3 separate regions of the Homo sapiens genome follow, and all the other regions are linked to region 1. The links are contacts of gene promoters, found by promoter capture Hi-C in human tissues and cell types (Jung and others, 2019). All regions are on one chromosome and are shown on one strand. Each heading gives the region's core, a stretch centred on a gene start or on the middle of the fragment in contact. The rest is flanking DNA. Distances are from core to core; before and after follow the strand shown.

Region 1 (3,071 bases), core at 9-2,508:
GCAAAACTTCTATTTAAAATTTTAAACACGAAGAAGAAATAAAGTCCCATTAGGAGTGTCTCTTCTATTATTGAAGGAAATTTAAAAAGATTCCTACTACAGAAATGGCTTTAAGAAAAGCAATAGGAAAGGTTATAAATTTGAAATATTCATAACTGTTCTAAAAAATACTTCATAATGATTGCTCTTTGTGCAAGAAATGTATCAAAGAGCCAGAGACCTCATCATCTAATTTCTTACTTTTTCTTAATTAACATTGTTCCCAGACCTCTGCTAAACTCCCGTGTTGAAAGGAAAAAAGTAAATACAGTACAGCAGGGAAAACTGGTTCCTTTCGACAAAACTGAGAGAGAGGCTTGAGCTTTTGTCAAACAGAAAGCACTTGATAAAAAACTATTCCTAAACTATTAGCAACTATATAGAAGCTTTTTATTTAACAGCATCCTCCTGGGAAACTGCGCTGGAATGTGCAGCGGTTCTGAAAAAGGCACAGATTTGGCTGAACTGTAAATATTAGGTGCACAGAGGCGAAGCCATTGTGTAGGGAGGGGTGGGGCAGGTAGGGTCCTGATTTCCAATGTTGATAGAAGGATTCCAATTTCGTTTGGTATTTATTTTTTTCTACTACAATTACAGTTTTGCTGAGAAAAATAAAATATTGGTTGTGCTTCCATCTGGGTTTCTAATTTTCAGTGTGTACAGACAAGAGAAGACCTCTCATTTACCCAAAAGAATCACCTTTCTGCAATCTCCAGTGCTACTGGACAAACAAACGAGCCCAACCCCACCGCCCACACCTCCCAAGCACCCGGCTCGCCGATCCCGCCTGCTTCAGGTAGCTGGGGTTTGCCCGGTACGCCAGCGGCCCTGAGACGATGTGTGCCCGCAGCACGATCGTGTCTGTTGGCATTTCTGGGTGTGGATGCTCCAAACCAATAAACCACAATACAGAACCCAAGCTTGGACTTTGAACCGAGCCCTTTTGCCTAGTTTGCTTTTTCCTCATCAAGCCAGGATCCTTGCCAACCCACCTCACAGCTTCTGCCCGGGCTGTGGCTCCCCTCCAGCCACCTGCGCGTGTTCGGGATAGAAGCGCGGTCAGGAGGGGAGCTCAGTCCACCAGCCACTCCAGGGAGAGACGGAAACTACAAATCCCATCAAGCCCCGCAGCCGGCTCCCTCCTCCTCCCTCTCCTTCCCCTTCAGCCTGCGGCCGGGCGGCGCTGGGCTTTTATCTGCGGACCCGCCGGGAGGGAGCCAGATCCCAGCGATCTTCCCCGACGGCAGCGCTTTACCCAGAGGCTGCCGGCGGCTCGTAGCTGGGTTCAGCTCTGCGTCCACGCCAGCCCGGAGCCCGGGGGGCAAGGGGTCTGTCCCGGGCGCAGCGAGAGGATGGTCATCCGCGTGTTCATCGCCTCTTCCTCGGGCTTCGTGGCGGTGAGCGCGGTGGGGGCGGGCAGTAGGTTGGGGTCGCGGGGCGCGGGTCCTGCGGGAGGCGCGCGGCGCTCGTCACTGCGCGTCCTTGCGCTCAGCCGGTCCGCCCGCGGGAGCCCGCGCCCGGCAGGTGATCCATCACACTCCGACAACAATGAAGAGGGCGGGGAGGAAAGGTGGGTGGGGGACCCCGGCCTCACCCAAATGCCCACCCTGCGTGGCCTGAAAGGCAGACAACGCGGCCTGAAAATGGAGTCCGAGGGAAGCCCCCAGCTCCTGTTGTGTGGCATGGAAATTTGGGGAACGGGTTGTTCAAGAGCTTCGGGGATCCCCCTTCCCCTAGTTTAGTTCTTCCCGATTTGGGACCTTCAGACTGGTTATGTTTTGCACGGGAGCCTTTTCTGCTGCTTTGGTTTGTTACCCTAGCTCCTGAATGAAGCAAGTTTAAGTGGGAATTGCTCTCTGTCCTCCCTTCCCCGCCAGCAAGTGCATTTGTTTAGTTTTATACCTGCGCAAAGAGAATAGTAAAACTAGGTTTGTCCTGTTGTGGTAGGATTGTTTGCTTTCACTGTCATTTTTTTTCTTAGGGTGCCATAAATATTTTTACATCTTTATGTAAATGTGTGTGTATGCACGCATTTTCTTTCCACCTGTAATGCTGTGGAAATTTTATCCTGGGGATCTATGAATTGTGGTTTTCTATTTAATTATTTTTAGCTATTCTCTTTGGTGGATGTTCTTGAATTTTTTTAGAGAAAAAAAATTTTTTTAAAGAAAGGAAAGTTAAATAGCTAGAGATGTCAGAATTTAAGGAAAATTCAGTAGTTAGTATATTTGACAGCCCACTAAGGGACATAGCACATGTGTTTTACATGATTATTGAGACTTGGTTTCCTTAACCAAGAGTTCAGCTATAGATTTAAGAGCCTCCTTTGTGACATATATAATCAAGTAACATCAAAAAGTGCATTGTAGATTGCTTAAATTTGGTCTGGTCAATTGTCTGCCCAGTAGCTCAGTCAGATTGTTCCAAAATTTGTTTCTTAAGTGGGTGGAGTGGAGGATGGAATAAAATATTGTTTGAAAATCCTTGTACACCACTGAAGTTTTTTATTTAAAAAGAAACCAACACGATCATACAAAGCCCCTCCACCCCCATTTGCACTAGAAACAATAGATGGGAAAATCCAACTTACACTTATGTGCAGTCATGTTGGGGTCCTCAGACTTCTGACAGTTTCTGGTGTTTCTAGCTATTTGGGTTGCTTAGTCATGCCTGCCTTTTGTAGATTTCCCCACTGAAGCCACACTTCATGTGTTTGCAAACTGGCACTGTTTCAAGGGTAGATTTGTTCAAATGCACTCCTTACTAAGAATGCTACAAAGCTCTTGGTTTCACCACCGACTTGCATGCTTCAATAATTGTCCCAATAGCATTATATTGATTATGGAAGGAATGGTTTTTATCCCTTCCACAAGAGATAAAGCCTAGGCTACTTTGGAGCAAGTCGGACCAAGTCAAGGTAATGACTTGGCTTACTCTATTAGTAGGTAGTATATTGAGATAGTTTTGGTACTCCACATCTTTGTTTTTTCAGTGCCATTGGCAAATATTTATTGCCTGCCTGCTGTGTGCCT
Region 2 (3,194 bases), core at 293-2,792, 130 kb before region 1:
ACCAACATGGTAAAACCTCATCTCTACTAAAAATACAAAAATTAGCCAGGCGTTGTGGTGCGCACCTGTAATTCCAGCTACTCAGGAGGCTGAGTCAGGAGAATCGCTTGAACCCGGGAGGTGGAGGTTGCAGTGAGCCACTCCAGAGTGGGCGACAGAGTGAGACTCCATCTCAAAAAAAAAAAAAAAAAGAAAGATATGATTAAGTCAACTGACAAAAACTGTACTACAGACAGTAGATTAGAGGAAATCATTATATAAGTGTAAATCATAGTATAACCATAATTTTACTATGGTTCTATAAAGGGCATAATCCCTATTCTGAAAAAATACACACTGATGCATTTAGGGGTAAAGAGCATGATGTATGCAAGTTACCCTCAAATAGCTAAAAAAAAAAAAAGTATGTGTATATATGCATATGACAGAGAGACCACATGAGAGAGCATGCATGCATATTATAAGACAAATGGGATAAAATGTTAGCAACAGACGAATCTGGGTAAACTGTATAGGAGTGTTCTTTGTACTGTTTTCAGATTTGCAATTCTCTGTAAGCTTGAAATTATTTCCATATAAAATATTAATTTAAAAAATCCTATCCCCCCCTAGATATTTTGGAGCAAAACAGGAAACCATTAAACTCAATGAGAACATGTTAAAAAAAATACCAGGGCTAAAAAATACTTAAGTTCCAAATGATAATAACTGTCAACCTGGAATCCAGCAAGACCCAGTAAAATTATCATTGAAGAGTGAAGATAAAATACATTCAGACAACTACTAAAAAGTGTTGCCACTCAGAAGCCCTCACTTAAACATATATTTCAGTAAGAAAGGAAGTGAACCCTGAAGGAACAATAATGAACAATGGTGACATGCAAGAAATAATGGTAAACTAAAAAATACTATTAAAATATTAAGAAGAATTTTTTTTAAAAATTAAAAACACTGTTAAAAATTAAAAGATTAAGTAGAAAAAGAAACCAAAAAAGCAAAAACAAACTCCCAAATGAGGAATAAATCCAGTTTTCAGTGGTGAAATCTAACAAATTTTAAGAAACAGATTATCTGTAAAAGAGAACAGAAAGGAAAAACTCTATGTCATTTTTGATGAGATTTTTTTATAATCTTGATGTCAATAGTGGAAAAATAAAATTGTACACCATTCCAAAATATGAATATTGTTGCAAAAGTCTCAAACAAATATTAGCAAAAGGAATTTAGCAATGTGTAAAAATTGCATCACAACTAAACAGCACCTATCCCAAGAAGCAAAGAACGAGAGTAGTTTCACATTCAAAACAATCCATGATTTAAAACAAAAACCCTAGCAAGCCAGTAGTAGAAGAAAATTTCCTTACACATAAATACACACACAAATTCACAGAAAAAGATCCAGAAGGATACATACTAAGACACTAAAAGTGGTGACATCTGAGTGGTAAGAATGAGAATGTTTTCATTTTATCTTTTAATTTTTCTCTAATTAAAAATATATATACATGTACTACTTATTTAAAAAAAGCTTCTAAAATATGTTTAAGTAAAAATTAAAATGCTTAGAAAAAATATATCCTACAACTTCAAAAGAGTAGTTACTTCTGAGCAAGGAGAGTAGAAAAAGGATGTTTGGAGAAAAGATACAAGGAAACTTCAGTTTAAGATCTTAATGTCAGCTTATTTTAGCAAAATAAGATCTAAAGCAAAAATAGAAAAATATCAAGTAGGTACATGAATGTTTTAAATATTCTTTTTCTGTATATTCAAAATATTTCATAAAAAATATTAGAAGTACTTTAAGAAATTAAAGAAACAATCAATAAGGAAGAAAATGCAAATAGTAGTTATCTTCGGCTGGCAGGACTATGGATATTTTTGCCCCACTTTTTTTTTTCCTTTTTTTTAAATTTTATTTTATTATTATTATACTTTAAGTTTTAGGGTACATGTGCACAATGTGCAGGTTAGTTACATATGTATACATGTGCCATGCTGGTGTGCTGCACCCATTAACTCGTCATTTAGCATTAGGTGTATCTCCTAATGCTATCCCTCCCCCACTCCCCCCACCCCACAACAGTCCCCAGAGTGTGATGTTCCCCTTCCTGTGTCCATGTGTTCTCATTGTTCAATTCCCACCTATGAGTGAGAATATGCGGTGTTTGGTTTTTTGTTCTTGCGATAGTTTACTGAGAATGATGATTTCCAATTTCATCCATGTCCCTACAAAGGACATGAACTCATCATTTTTTATGGCTGCATAGTATTCCATGGTGTATATGTGCCACATTTTCTTAATCCAGTCTACCATTGTTGGACATTTGGGTTGGTTCCAAGTCTTTGCTATTGTGAATAGTGCCGCAGTAAACATATGTGTGCATGTGTCTTTATAGCAGCATGATTTACAGTCCTTTGGGTAATTTTTTTCCCCACTTTTACTGTAAATTTCAAAACATCTTTAAACAAACACGTTAATAATACAATAAAATTTAAAATACTTAACATTTTTTCCAAAGGACATATCACAGAATTCTGTCTTGTTAATGGAAAGAAATAAAGGATTAACATAATTTAAAATTTTTGCAAGCAAACACAAAGGATAAGTTATTTTACCTTCATTTATTTTTTATTAATTAGTAAAGGATTATAGATTTAAATAACAATATTGCATTTGTTAAAATAAGTCTATCAATGTCAGCTGTTTTAACATCTGTTCAGTGTTGTTATAGCTCAATTCTAAAGATTCAGATCCTTGTGTAAGCAAGGACCCTGCAGGTCTCCAGTCCACCTTACAGTAATACTTTTTTACAGTATTCCTAGAAGGTAGACATTGAATCTGCACAAATACTTCAGGAAGCAGAAAGCTTGATAATGCAAAGCATACTGGTTTCATTATTGGACAATTCCAGTTATTAGGAGGCTCTTTTGAATGAGAGGAAACCAGTTTTCTAGTAATATTCATTAGGTTTGTATTGCCCTCAGGAAATAAATCCATTTCTCCTGCTCCATGTGACAGCCCTTTAAACAATGAAGTAAGTTACATTTTTCCTTATATTTTCTATGATTCTGTGTTTCTTCCACTGTTTCTTTTATGTCAGCTTTTTGACCCCCTGGTTATCCTGTTTGCCTCCATATGTCAGTTTGTTACCTAAAATCTGGTACTTGCTATTAGATGTGATCTGACCAATAAA
Region 3 (3,496 bases), core at 663-3,162, 190 kb before region 1:
ATTGTTCCTTGTGTGATATACATGTAAAGGAAATAACCACCCATGAGCTGATAAGGGGAGATAATTGGATCTTTGTGAGATCTCGACCAGGGCTCTGGCCCTTTGAGTAGATGGTGTCTCATAGCCCTCCTCAAGTGAGTGTCCAGCTCAGATTTCCACTCTCAAGTTCAGAGTTGTCAAAATGGCCTGATGGGCCTCCAAAGCCCTGGTGAAGATGACCAGCAAAGGTAATTAAGTCCAAAGATAGAATTTGTGATAAGGGAGAAGAGTCTGCATTGGTGACCCTGATTCAGTGTCAGGGCCTTAATCAGATGGAGGAAGCACTCATTCTGGACTTAGTGCACAGCTGATACCAAAACTTCCTTGGACCAGTACCTCCAGCGCTGTGGGTGTATCCTGACGAAAGGACTGAGGTTGTGATTGTATTATATATGGCTGATTCCTAGACAACTTGAAATCAAGGCTATGTGTCTTGTGGGACAACCATGGCTGAGTCTGTGGAGAAAGGGGTAGTTCCCCAAGGAACATATTGGTTATTTTACCAGCAAAAACGCAAATGAATAGCAGGCAAACAAAAACAACTGATTACACCATAAATACTAAAAATGATTTACCCCTTTTATAAAAGGTAAGCAAATGCCTATGCCTTTCTCAAGTTCAAGAATTATTATAACCATGCTTCCATTTCCAAAAGAAGGAAACTGTACCCATAGTGACTGTATAGAAAAAGAAACACAACAGAGGTTCAGAGTCATAGCTGGGCTGACTGCCTGCACACACCCAGCTGTTCTCTTAAAATCACAAAGCCCGTGGAAGTTCCAGACTCTGTTGTTTTGGCCCAAATTACATATTTCAACACTTTATTGTTTGCTTTTGATGTCTGGGTTAGTAATTTTCATGCAAAAAGGACCATCTGGGAAAAACATTTTTTTGTGTCTCGTGGGTTCTTTATGGATAAGCAAAAATGCTCATTATTTAAGCAAAAATGTTTTTAATATGGAGCTGCAATGATGTTGTGAATAAGGAGTTATATCATTGTGCTATCCACTTCTATGCCCAGAAAAACAGAAACACATTGCTTTGTATTCATGAGGAAAGTGTAGAGATCACTGCAAGAAATGTGTTTTAGAAATAGCCCCAAATATTACTCTAGAATACATTCTTTGTTATTAAGCTTTGTTAATAGCATAAGGAAAACAAATGCTTCAGTAAACTTTTTCACATGATCTTTCATAAAATTACAACATTTCTTAATATATTTTTAAATCAAGAAAGCCACATATACAATATTAACTGGGAAAGAATATTTTAAAAAAAACAATTCTTAAAAATAACAGATTGGCATAATCAAATCAGGTGAGTTCTGGTGATTACTGAGAAATAAAACACCTGGATTTAATAAATCTTAAAGCACTTAACCATGTAATAAAGCACAGAGCAATGGAAGAAAATGTGTAAATTTGAAGTCTCATCTGATTTAAAGTCACAAAAATGAGGATCACACAAAATACTCTCGCCTTCCTGGGCAGAAGTGAATACATCAACACTGCAGGCTATGACAGTGTAGTAGCTATTAACCCATTGTGGATAAACAATTAAAAAGCTTGATTACCCAATGTAAGATAATGTAAAGTAGCACTCTTCAAACGAGTCTGGGTATATCAGAGTACATGCCGACTTGCCCTAAGAGACCATGTTGGGTGGGGTCATGGGGGGTGGCTTTAAAGAATCCAGGTTCTTAAGTGAATTAAGTCAAGAACAGGAAACCAAATACAGCATGTTCTTACTTATAAGTGAGAACTAAGCATTGTGGGAGCTAAGCATTGGATACTCATGGACATAAACATGGGAACAATAGACACTAGAGACCACTAGTAATCTACCTATTGGGTACTATGCTCACTGCTTGAGTGATGGGATCATTCATACCCTAAACCTCAGCATCATACAATATACCTATGTAAAAAACCTGCACATGTACCCCCGAACCTAAAATAAAAGTTGAAATTAATAAATAATTTCTTTAAAGAATCCAAGTCCTTACCCTCCATATGTTCTCTTTCCTAAAACACACCTGCCTACAGTATATCCCTCTGGTAGTTCTCCTCTTATCTCTCACCACTATCACCTTTCTCCCAATGTACTCAAGAACAAACCTTTTACTCTTCTTGAATCCAACTACACACATTTTTCCAGGGTGGAAAAAACCCTCATCAAACCAAAGGGTTTAAAATGTCAAAATTGAAATATGATATATTGGCAGAGGAAAAGAAAAGAGATTATCAGTAAGAAATATTGAAGGCATAGGTGTGTTATTTTGTACAAGTGACAAACTTATGAAATAATTTTTTATCAAAGGTTTTTATCTATTTAACTAGAATATTTAACCGGAAACCATGCTAGGAAGTTCCAGTCGGTTAAGATGTGTGTTCTCTCTGCATCTTTATGATTCTCAGTAGTGAGAATGAGCTTGATAATTTGCATTATTAACCTGCATCATGGCCTGTGTCTCAGTTGCATATGTGCATGGTTTCAAGGAAGAAGCGACAAAAATGTCCATGTTTACTTGCATCAAGTTTTTCCAAAAAGGCCATTTATAAGAAAAATCATCTTTATTTTATTTAACAGAGACACGAATCTCCTGCTCACTGTCACTCCTCAGTTATTGTGTTTATTCAACTATTTGATGTTGTTTTGTGATACATAATTTATTTAATAGCAATCATCAATTTACTTTTTGTAAACTCTACAATTACTAGGGACTCAATACCTTCTCTTTTCTTTGCTGGTAATTCCCAGCAGAGTAAACTGGACTCTTTAAAATAAAACATTTACTTAGGTATGGGTGTATGATATCCCTCTGCCCCCTGTAGAGAGGGGACTGGCTCATAGTGAATCCTAGGCTTCTATTGTCCCTTGCTCCCTATCTGTAAGTAATAAGCCTGCTTCATGGAACTTGTATGTGACAGTTCTATCTCACTGGATTCAGACAAGTTGGTAACCAGTGCACAGTGAACCTGTGTCACACTGTTGGCTTAAAACCATCATTTAACTCTCACAGTTCTGCTGTTCAGGAATTTAAGCAGTGCTCAAAAGGGAAAGCTCATTTCTGCAACATGTGCATTGACTGGAGAATCCATGATAGCTTTGCTCACATGTCACATTTCTCTAATGTTTGACTGAAGTGGCTGGGACCTGGCTGATCCTCTCTATCTCTCCCTTCACAGGCTCTTATACTCTGGGGCCTCTTTTTCTGCACATGCTCTCTCTTTACATGGATTCTTTATATAGCTGCTTGTTTCCTCTCTGAGTGAAAACAGAAGCTATATGACATTTGAATGTCTGGGCTCAAAAATCCAAGCATATGACTTCTGCTGCATTAAACTTGTCAAAAAAATCACAAGTTCAGTGCAGATTCAAGGTATGAGTAAACAGATGTGCTCTCTCGGTCAGAGAACTGGCAAGTGCATAAATAATTCTTACTGGCTGTAGTTAC

What was found. The method cuts DNA at HindIII sites, captures the fragments that hold promoters and counts their contacts. A contact is called where the count stands out against the background at its distance.
Region 2: a fragment that was not itself captured here is called in contact with the fragment with the promoter of SH3BGRL2 in region 1 in 3 of the 25 tissues and cell types used here (adrenal gland, dorsolateral prefrontal cortex and mesendoderm cells).
Region 3: a fragment that was not itself captured here is called in contact with the fragment with the promoter of SH3BGRL2 in region 1 in 1 of the 25 tissues and cell types used here (H1 embryonic stem cells).

What each region holds. Positions count from the first base shown.
Region 1 is chr6:79,630,071-79,633,141 of GRCh38, forward strand. It overlaps SH3BGRL2 (SH3 domain binding glutamate rich protein like 2), which reads left to right and starts at 1,259. Exons shown (of 4, transcript NM_031469.4): 1 at 1,259-1,436. The coding sequence starts at 1,392. The HindIII fragment of the contact is 5,139 bases long and covers 693-3,071 here.
Region 2 is chr6:79,497,783-79,500,976 of GRCh38, forward strand. All of the region lies in intron 3 of LCA5 (lebercilin LCA5), which reads right to left. Among named protein-coding and RNA genes, the nearest start is that of LCA5, 38 kb to the right of the region's middle. The HindIII fragment of the contact is 3,539 bases long and covers 1-3,194 here.
Region 3 is chr6:79,437,431-79,440,926 of GRCh38, forward strand. The region is part of intron 5 of LOC100506851 (a long non-coding RNA gene); the gene reads left to right. Among named protein-coding and RNA genes, the nearest start is that of LCA5, 98 kb to the right of the region's middle. The HindIII fragment of the contact is 6,028 bases long and covers 1-3,496 here.